3 separate regions of the Homo sapiens genome follow, and regions 2 and 3 are each linked to region 1. Evidence: promoter capture Hi-C in human tissues and cell types (Jung and others, 2019). All regions are on one chromosome and are shown on one strand. Each heading gives the region's core, a stretch centred on a gene start or on the middle of the fragment in contact. The rest is flanking DNA. Distances are from core to core; before and after follow the strand shown. Region 1 holds the start of SEC24A (SEC24 homolog A, COPII component). Region 2 has its middle 40 kb from the start of SAR1B. Region 3 overlaps SEC24A (SEC24 homolog A, COPII component).

What was found. The method cuts DNA at HindIII sites, captures the fragments that hold promoters and counts their contacts. A contact is called where the count stands out against the background at its distance.
Region 2: a fragment that was not itself captured here is called in contact with the fragment with the promoter of SEC24A in region 1 in 3 of the 25 tissues and cell types used here (H1 embryonic stem cells, psoas muscle and small bowel).
Region 3: a contact is called between a fragment that was not itself captured here and the fragment with the promoter of SEC24A in region 1, in 1 of the 25 tissues and cell types used here (small bowel).

The regions. Positions count from the first base shown.
Region 1 is chr5:134,647,284-134,650,295 of GRCh38, reverse strand. It overlaps SEC24A (SEC24 homolog A, COPII component), which reads right to left and starts at 1,511. Exons shown (of 23, transcript NM_021982.3): 1 at 1,123-1,511. The coding sequence starts at 1,219. RefSeq lists enhancers at 1,326-1,863, 1,611-1,900, 1,911-1,970. The HindIII fragment of the contact is 35,050 bases long and covers 1-3,012 here.
Region 2 is chr5:134,590,813-134,594,179 of GRCh38, reverse strand. No RefSeq gene overlaps it. Among named protein-coding and RNA genes, the nearest start is that of SAR1B, 40 kb to the left of the region's middle. RefSeq lists enhancers at 1,168-1,761, 2,582-2,641. The HindIII fragment of the contact is 7,095 bases long and covers 1-3,367 here.
Region 3 is chr5:134,702,988-134,706,064 of GRCh38, reverse strand. SEC24A (SEC24 homolog A, COPII component) reads right to left here. Exons shown (of 23, transcript NM_021982.3): 16 at 2,133-2,306; 17 at 628-738. Among named protein-coding and RNA genes, the nearest start is that of CAMLG, 34 kb to the left of the region's middle. The HindIII fragment of the contact is 7,432 bases long and covers 1-3,077 here.

The DNA of each region.
Region 1 (3,012 bases), core at 262-2,761:
CTAAATATTCTAGAATAAAATGTAGTGTACATAATCTGTTACCATAATTTTGAGAAAGAATGGTTAACTCAGTACCCTTTCAGTGGCTTTCCTCCACTTATTCTTTCTTCTGCCCACATAGTTGCCTACTCACAGACATTTTTAAAAGTCTTTTAGAGCCATCTTTGTAAAGAAAACAGCGGTCTTCTCTAAAAACAATGTAAATTAGAGATTTTAGTCACTGTCTGTATTCTCCAACTTCACAGAACTCTTAGACTCTAATGGGCAACTTAAGTTCTTTAGCATTATTCTACTAGTCTTATTTCTGTAAACCAAAGATTTGTAAGTAAATTGGTAAGTAGGCAATCTGTCGGCAGAAAGTCTTTGTCTATTGTAACAACTGAAATAATCTTAGCAAATCACAATGTAGGACGATTTAAGGAATCCTAGAAGAGGTATAAAATTATAAGACATTCTCACATCAAATGACAAACTATAATGTACATGTAGACTCTTGTCAGAGATTCAGAGAGTTGTGTCCACCCACTTTCCAAATGCTGTCCAGACATCTAGAAGTCAACCAGGAGATCCTCCCTTCTATTTGGTTTTTCCACAGCTGAAACATTGAACAGCTGTTGTAGGTACAATTCTGGGAAGGTTCTGGGAGAGATGAGTAGGCCCTAAAGGGGTGTCCCAAAAGCATGCATTCATCTCCAGAAACTCAGACTGAGTACGACCCCCACCCCACTTCAGGGCCTGCGGAACCCAGAAGAATCAGACCCCACATCCTGCTCTCTAGGAGACTGGGGTGAGGTGGCAAGGAAGGCGAAGGCACACAAACACTATGATCCTTATATTCGAGTTTTGAGGCATTTTCTCACCCGTGTTTCACCCAGGGCGTTGCATACAGCAGGTGCTCATTTACTGTTTTGGTGACCGACTAAATAAATGTGAAAGACTGAGACGAGCCTGGGGCTACAGGTGCACAACTGCCGTGGTCCCCTGGCCCAGCCGCCCACCACCATCCGCGCCAGAACCCGGTAAGGAGGTCACTCTCTCTATCTATGTCGCCTCAAGCAGCAGTGGCACGCAAAGGTCAGTCAGCCCTGGCCAGGCTGCGCCCTCCCCCCGGACAGCACTCACCGTTGGTGTAGGGAGACCCCGAGGCCAAGGCGGCTCCGTTCTGGGCCTGGAGGCTGGCTGGGGCGCCGCCGGAGGCCGGTATTCCCGGCTGGGACATGATGACTGGGTTGGAAGGGGCTGGTCGGGGTCGACAACAGCGCACAAGAAGAGAGCTGAAAGACCACTGCTGAAAGCGGAGGGAGGAGGCTAACGACTTAAGACTGAAGACTGGGAGAAGAGGGGGGGGCGCATTAAGCCCGAGGCATGGCGCCGCACTCTCCCCAGGCCACCGGCGGCCACAGCCTAGCCTGGGAGCTGAGGCTTGAGAGTCGGGCCGGCGGGGCCGCGAACGCCCGGCTAGAAGGCGGCAGCCAAACCTAGAGAGAAGGAGGGAGGCCCTGGCCGGAAGTGCCTGTCAGCCGCCGGCCGCGCAGCCGCAATCAGGACACGTGGCACTTCCGGCTCCGGGCTCGCAGCAGCCGCCGCCGCGCCGGCGAACTCTTCTCTGCCAGCCGGGCTGCCCCGAGGCCACCTGACAGCTCCTGGTGCCCCGACCCCGACGACCGTGCCCGGCCTCGCCGCCACGTCACCGACTCTCACGGCCGGCCGGAAGTGCCGTGTGTCACCGCTACGGAAATTCCCGCCGTTGTGAACGTGACCTCGCTCGCAGAGCCAGGATCGTGGGGCAATCTGAGATTCAGTAGCCGCTTTCGTGGGGTGGGACTGACAGTTCCTCTCCTCGGGTTTTGTGAAGATTACCTGAGACCATAGAAGTCATCGTCCTCTGTTGAGACCGTACCACCACTGGGAGCTGGGGCGGTTAATGTTCATCGCAGTATTTCATTCACATTTCGTCTTCGTGTTTCAGATGTAAATTATAAGGGGTTTTAAAAAGAGGTGGTTAAATATGTGTACATGTTAATAGTGTGATCAAGCCAAGAAGGAGGCCTTTGTCTTTGACTGGAGGACTCAGAGGAATTTTAATTTTGAAACTCGCTGATTCACAGCATAGTCACGCTCAAGTTCATTAGCACATTTAAATGGCAGTTTTGTTTCCTCTTCTAAGAGTTTACAGTAAGGTAAAGAACTCAAACTTCCTTTCAGAGCAAGTAGACTTTTTTTTTTTTTGCAAGTTGACTTTTTTGACTTTTGAAGCCAAAGGGAGGTCGAAACTGCGGTGATTGGACAACATAGTTAATTAATGATTGAGTAATCATCTTAGCTGCCTTCATTCTATTTAGGTTTTTCCTGCTCTGTGCTGACGATAAAGCCCTCCTTTACAGATTTGTACTGTGGATTAAAATGTCATGCCACGCGGTTTCGAAACCTCAGTGTGAAGTACATCTTACCTAATTCATTTAATACCAAATGCCTGCTATGAAGTGTTATATTACATACAAAAAAAAGCCAGATCTAAACCACTGTGTCGGGCTGGGCAAGGTGGCTCACTCCTGTAATCCAAGCACTTTGGGAGGCTGAGACAGAAGGATTACTTGAGGCCAGGAGTTTGAGACCAGTCTGGACAACAGGGAGAGTCCCCTTATCTCTATTTAAAAAATATATATATATATATATTTTTGAGACAGAGTCTTGGTCTGTTGCCCAGGCTGGAGTGCAGTGGTGCCATCTCCGCTCACTGCAACCTCCGCCTCCTGGGTTCAAGCAATTCTCCTGCCTCAGTCTCCCGAGTAGCTGGGATTACAGGCTCCTGCCACCATGCCTGGCTAATTTTTGTATTTTTAGTAGAGACAGGGTTTCACCATGTTGGCCAGGCTGGTCTTGAACACCTGACCTCAGTTGATCCACCCGCCTCAGCCTCCCAAAGTGCTGGGATTACAGGCGTAAGCCACCATGCCCAGCCAATGTTTTTAATTAAATAAATTTTTAAAAAGTGGCCAGTGTGGTGGCACA
Region 2 (3,367 bases), core at 437-2,936, 56 kb after region 1:
CACATGCCTGTAGTCCCAGCTACTTGGGAGGCTGAGGCAGGAGAATGGCTTGAACCTGGGAAGCGGAAGTTGCAGTGAGCTGAGATCACGCCATTGCTCTCCAGCCTGGGTGACAGAGCAAGACTCCGTCTTAAAAAAAAAAAAAAGAAAGAAAAAGAAGAAGGCTGGGTGCAGTGGCTCACACATGTAACCCCAGCACTTTGGGAGGCCAAATTTGGGGGAGCACTTGAAGCCAGAAGTTCAAGACCAGCCTGGGCAACATAGCAAGACTTCATCTCTACCAAAAAAAAAAAAAAAAGCTGGGCATAGTGATGCATACCTGTGGTCCCAGCTACTGAGAAGGCTGAGGCAGGAGGATTACTTGAGCCTGAGAGGTAGAGGCTGCAGTGAGCCATGGTCATGCCAGTTCACTCCAGCCTGGGCAACAAAGCAAGACCCTGTCTCAAAAAAACATAAAGCAAAACAAAAAAACCTCTGACCTGGGACTGTCTTTGCCTGAACAGTGGAGCAGTATGGTGGTTTCATCCATTAAGCAGAAGTGTAATGGATGAAGAAGGGAGAATACCCTGTGTTTTAATCCCCTAGGAAAGTACTGAACTTGAAAAATCAAGTGGGCAGAGTAGCTTAACTGTCATGAAATAGTCCAAAGACTGCCCAGTGAAAGTGAATTGGACTTCATCTATGACTCCAGGACTCAAGAGGACCTGTGAATAGAAATGTCAGGTGTCAAAGAGACATTACAATTGAATTTAAGAGAGACCTTTTTAACACAGCTGTGGGTTGCCTTTCAAATGATGGGCTGTTGTTGGAATTCAAACAGTCTCTCCTAGAGAGGGGAACTCCATGGGATAGTGATTGGATGAAATGAGCTCTCACACTCTCCCCAAACTCAGAGGTCCTACAAACCACATGAGGCTTTTCAGATGAGGGCCATGAAGGAGTTAAAATTGACGGGGCAAGTTAGTGCCAATCCCATGCCCTTTCTTGACTGGATGGAAGTATTCCTGGAGGGGAGAGGAATCCCTAAGATTTACTCTCTTCTTGAGAGTCCCCTCTGATCCCCGATGCCTCTACGGGGGCATGTCTACTTCTCCTGTGACATTGGCTCACTTGAGACTCTTTTTTTTTGGGACAGGGTCTCACTCTGCCACCCAGGCTGGGGTACAGTGGTATGATCACAGCTCACTGCAGCCTCCTGGACTCAGACTATCCTCCCACCTCAGCTTCCTGAGTAGCTGGGACTACAGATGCCCACCACCACACCCAGCTAATTTTGTATCTTTTTGTGGAGATGGGGTTTTGCCAGGTTGCCCAGGCTTCACTTGTGACTCTTACCTGGATGTGGCAGAGATAAGGCCCATCCATCAGACCTCCCTCCCAAGCCTCCTAGGATGCTACTTCAGTAAGGAATGGGCATGAATATTCCAGCTGGCATTTAGGGAGCAATGCTTTGATACCAAGCAACAGGCACTAGAACCAGGCAGGCTCCCAGAGTCCCAAAATAGCAGTTCAGAGTACCCACAGGTGAAAGTTTATTTTGCTGAGTCACTTTTCCTCCTTGGCTTCTACAAACCCTTGGCTGTTCTTCTGAGTTTCATGTTAATCACAACATTCAATCCCTAGCAATGGAATGTTCCTTTTTTGCAAAAGGGGTGAGGTGAGGGCACAGGAGGGATGTCCTATTCAACTACCTCTAGCCTCTCGGGTTACAAGCTTTCAGGTGTGAAGGATGATCACAGAGCTGACAAGGGGCCTGAGTAACCCACAAGGCTGGGGAGCTGTGTGGTTTTTTGGCCCAGGCAGCTGACTGTCAGATATGTGACTGAAGCGGCTTCTCTGACCATCAGCTGTTTGCAACCAGCCCCCATCTAGGGGCTGCACCGGGCCAGTCCCTAGAGTGGAACTGACCCCAGACCACCGTTGGGCTTAGGGAGGCCCGTGAAAACTTGTAAACAAACAGGGTTTACCGGCTCAGAATCCGGGAAGTGAGAGTTGGTAAACAAATCCCTCTGGCCTCCTTGCCTCTGGTCAGTCAGCAAGTCTGTGAGTGCTCTCCTGTACCACTGTGTCCTGCCCTCCTCTAACACCTTTTGTGGCTCCTCATTTTGTCCACTTCATACCCATGTCCTCTTTGAGCCTCTCAGCCACCCTGCATGGTGGGCCCAGCAGGAGCTCTCATCCTTATTAACAAATGAGGAAACTAAGGGCCAGAATGCAGGTCAATAATTTTCCATTACCCCAAGGACAACAAAATTCCATTTCTAGCAGCTTCCTCTTTCGTGGTGGATTCATGGATAAATTCTCTAGACTTGAATGGCCACATGTTGCTTAATGTTCATTGAGAATGGAGGGAAGTGGCCGGGAGCAGTGGCTCATGCCTGTAATCCCAGCACTTTGGGAGGCTGAGGTGGGCGGATCACCTAAAGTCAGGAGTTTGAGAATGGAGGGAAGAATAAGGGGGACCACCCACTAAATACAAACCTCTAGACCCGAGGCAACCCACTTGAGCATTATCCCAAAGACAGAGGCCTCCATCCCTATCAGGGAGGCCTAGGCCCCCTTCCAAGCCTGAGGAGGGATGCCTCCTCTTCTCTTCCAGTGCCTCTAGGCCCTGCTCCATGCTTCACCGTGTCACTATCCCAGCCCGACCTGGCATCTCACCCCATGACCACGCCCATGACTAATCCTGTGCTCCTAATGGCACACTCACCTGGTGACAGATGAGTCAGCCGCCACAATGGTGTTCTGATGGTGCAAAGGTGACAAGCTGAGTGGATAAAGCTTCTTCCTTCTCTCCTCTGCCCAAGTTGTGTATGGAGGCTCACCCAGCCCCATCTGCCAGCTAGCCCCACCTCACCCAGCTGGCCTCAAGTTAAAGGGCCCTGGTGAGATAGGAGAATAGGGAATTAGGGTCACCAAGGATCAAGGCATAAGCAAAAGAACAGCAGGTGCAGCCACTTCTAGGCAAGATTAGGCAGCATACAGGCCACATCCTCACTCCTGTGATAACAAGACAGAAATTTCCACTTCAGCCTCTGATTGACCACGGGCCAAGTATCCACTTCAGCCTCTGATTAGTTGCTGGCCAATCTGTCATAGGGTATAACCAACTGGAGGCCTTTAAAGGGTACCTAGGAGTGTTACCAAATTCTTTTTTTGTTTTTGAGACAGAATCTTGTCCTATCACCCAGGCTGGATTGCAGTGGCTTGATCTCCACTCACTGCAAACTCTGCCTCCTGGGTTCAAGCAATCCTCCCATCTCAGCCTCCAGAGTAACTGGGACCACAGGCACACCACCATGCTCAACTAATTTTTTCTTTCTTTCTTTCTCTCTCTCTTTTTTTTTTTTTTAGTAGAGACTGGGTT
Region 3 (3,077 bases), core at 537-3,036, 55 kb before region 1:
AATACAAAAATTAGCTGGGCATGGTGGCGCATGCCTGTAATCCCAGCTACTCGGGACGCTGAGGCAGGAGAATCGCTTGAACCCAGGAGATAGAGGTTGTGGTAAGCCAAGATTGCGCCATTACACTCCAGCCTGGGCAATAAGAGCGAGACTCCATCTCAAAAAAAAAAAAAAAAAGATATAGCTAAGTTCAGTGTAGACAAATATATAAATATATAGAGACAGAAAGTAGTTTAGTGGTTACTTAAGGCCAGTAAGGGAGGGAGGAAGAAGTGGGCAGTAACTGCTAATGAGCATGAGGTTCCTCTTGAGACAATAGAAATGTTATAAAATTAGATTGTGGTGATAGCTGTACAACTCTGTAAAAACACTAAAAACAAATGAATTATCAATTAAACTGGGTGAAGTGGTATGGTATGTAATTATATCTCAATAAATTTGTTTAAATAAACAAACAAAAAAGATAAGATTATCTGCAGCAGATCTTTTCAAATAGTTACTTAGCAGGCACCCAGGGGATCTAAAACATTCAAACTATAAAGCTAACTATTTAAAGGAAAACAAAACTGTTTGGATGTGCCTAATGTTATTACTTGTAAGATATTTATAACAGATAACAACTCTTACCCATATTGGCCAATAACCCTGAAATTGCTTGAACATCAGCTCCAAGAAAGACATCATTCAGAGTCGAAACTACTGGCAAACACAAAGTATGAACACGAATTCTTCTTTCGCCTTTGGGGAAAATACACAAACAACAGTGAGGGGCAACTATATAAAACAAAAGATTATGTTAAAGTCACTTGGAAAAATCACTTCTTAGCTGGGTGCAGTGGTGCATCCCTGTAGTCCCACCTACTCCAGAGGCAGAGACAGGAGGATCCCTTGAGCTCAGGAGTTTAAGTGCAGCCTGGGCAATACAGTGAGACTCCATCTCTTAAAAAAAAATAAATTAATTAAAAAAAAAAAAATATATATATATATATATATAAATATAAATATAAATAACTTCTTTTCGATTTAGAACCAGGTAGTATAGTTACATAGTAAGCAGAGACAGTATCAAACGTTTTATACTGGCCAGACACAGTGGCTCACACCTGTAATCCCAGCACCCAGCACTTTGGGAGGCTAAGGTGGGAGGATTACCTGAGGCCAGGAGTTCAAGACAGGGCTGAACAACATAGTAAGACCCTATCTCTATTAAAAATAAATAAGTACATAAATATTAAAAATTTCATCCTTTTTTTTTTTTTTTAGAAACAAGGTCTCATTCTGTTGCCCAGGCAGGACTGCAGTGGCACAATCATAACTCACTGCAGCCTCAAACTCCTGGGCTCAAACAATCCTCCCTACTCAGCCTCCCAAGTAGGTAGGACTACCAGTGTGTGCCACTATACCTGGCTAATTAAAAAAATATTTTTTTAGAGACAGTGTCTCACTATGTTGTCCAGGCTGGTCTTGAACTCCTGGCCTCAAGTGATCCTCCCTAGTCAGCCTTCCAAAGTGCTAGGTTTACAGACCACCACACCTGACCCTACTTCTTTTAATTGTTTTAACTATAAAATTCTTTTCATTCAGGTTATTACTAAATGAACAGGGATCGCATTCAAATGACAATATGCTAAATTTTTAAAAATCTCTTTTTTGAACTTTTTAGTTGGTTTACTGCTTTTGGTAATGAAAATTTTAAGGGCTGGGCGCAGTGGCTCATGCCTGTAATCCCAGCACGTTGGGAGGCAGAGGCGGGCAGATCACGAGGTCAAGAGATTCACACCATCCTGGCCAGCATGGCAAAACTCCATCTCTACTAAAATTACAAAAATTAGCTGGATGTGGTGGCGCACACCTGTACTCCCAATTACTCGGGTGGCTGAGGCAGGAGAATCACTTGAACCCAGGAGGCAGAGGTTGCAGTGAGCAGAGACTGCGCCACTGCACTCCAGCCTGGTGACAGAGTGAGACTCTGTCTCTACATAAATAAATAAATAAATAAATAAATAAATAAAAACAGCAATTTTAAGTTAGCACACATAAGATATGCTACATGTATTTTATAGCCCATTTTGACATTTGAAATCCAGACAATATTTGAACATTTGAAATCCAAAAAAAAACAAACAATTTACCTTTGCTGGATGTATACAAGAGTGCTGACTGAAAAGAAACCAACTGAGTGTCAGTAAGACTCTCTTCCACTGACATCTGTACTGCATACCCAGCGTCTGGGTTGACGTTAGGCAAAGACAGTAAGTCGGTTGACCTAACAAAGAAGTTTCCATGGAAAGTATGAATGGAAAGACCTAGAAGAGAAAAAGGTAACAAAATTATTTTTATATACCTACATACTGATATTTACATTTTATCCTAGTTACTTATCAGATTGGCAAAAAGTAAAGAAATCTAGATAATACACAGTACTTAGTGAGGTTAAGGAATAACAGATGGCTTTTGAAATGAAGGTGGGGATACTAATTTTCAAAAAACATTTTTGGGTCAGGTGCGGTAGCTCACGCCTGTAATCCCAGCACTTTGGGAGGCCAAGGTGGGTGGATCGCCTGAGGTCAGTTTGAGATCAGCCTGGCCAATAACATGGTGAAACCCTGTCTCTACCAAAAACACAAAAATTAGCCGAACATGGTGGCAGGCGCCTGCAATCCCAGCTACTCAGGAGGTTGAGGCAGGAGAATTGCTTGAACCCGGGAGGCAGAGGTTGCAGTGAGCTAAGATTGCGCCACTGCACTCCAGCCTGGGCGACAGAGCAAGACTCTGTCTCAAAAAGAAACACAAAAAACATTTTTGGACGATAATTTGGCAGTATCTATCAAAATTCTAGATACTTATTTTGACTTTAGCAATCCCATATCAAAGAATGTGTCCTACAGATATACTCATTTAAGTGCCAAATTCACACATGCAGAAAAATTTCAAGTAGACTGGTGTGTCACAGCAAAAAAAATTTAGAAATACCTTCAATGGGTATCAGTAGAAAAACTAGGCCAGGCACAATGGCTCATGCCTGTAATCCCAACACTTTCGGAGGCTGGTGCAGGCAGATCACTTGAGGTCAGGAG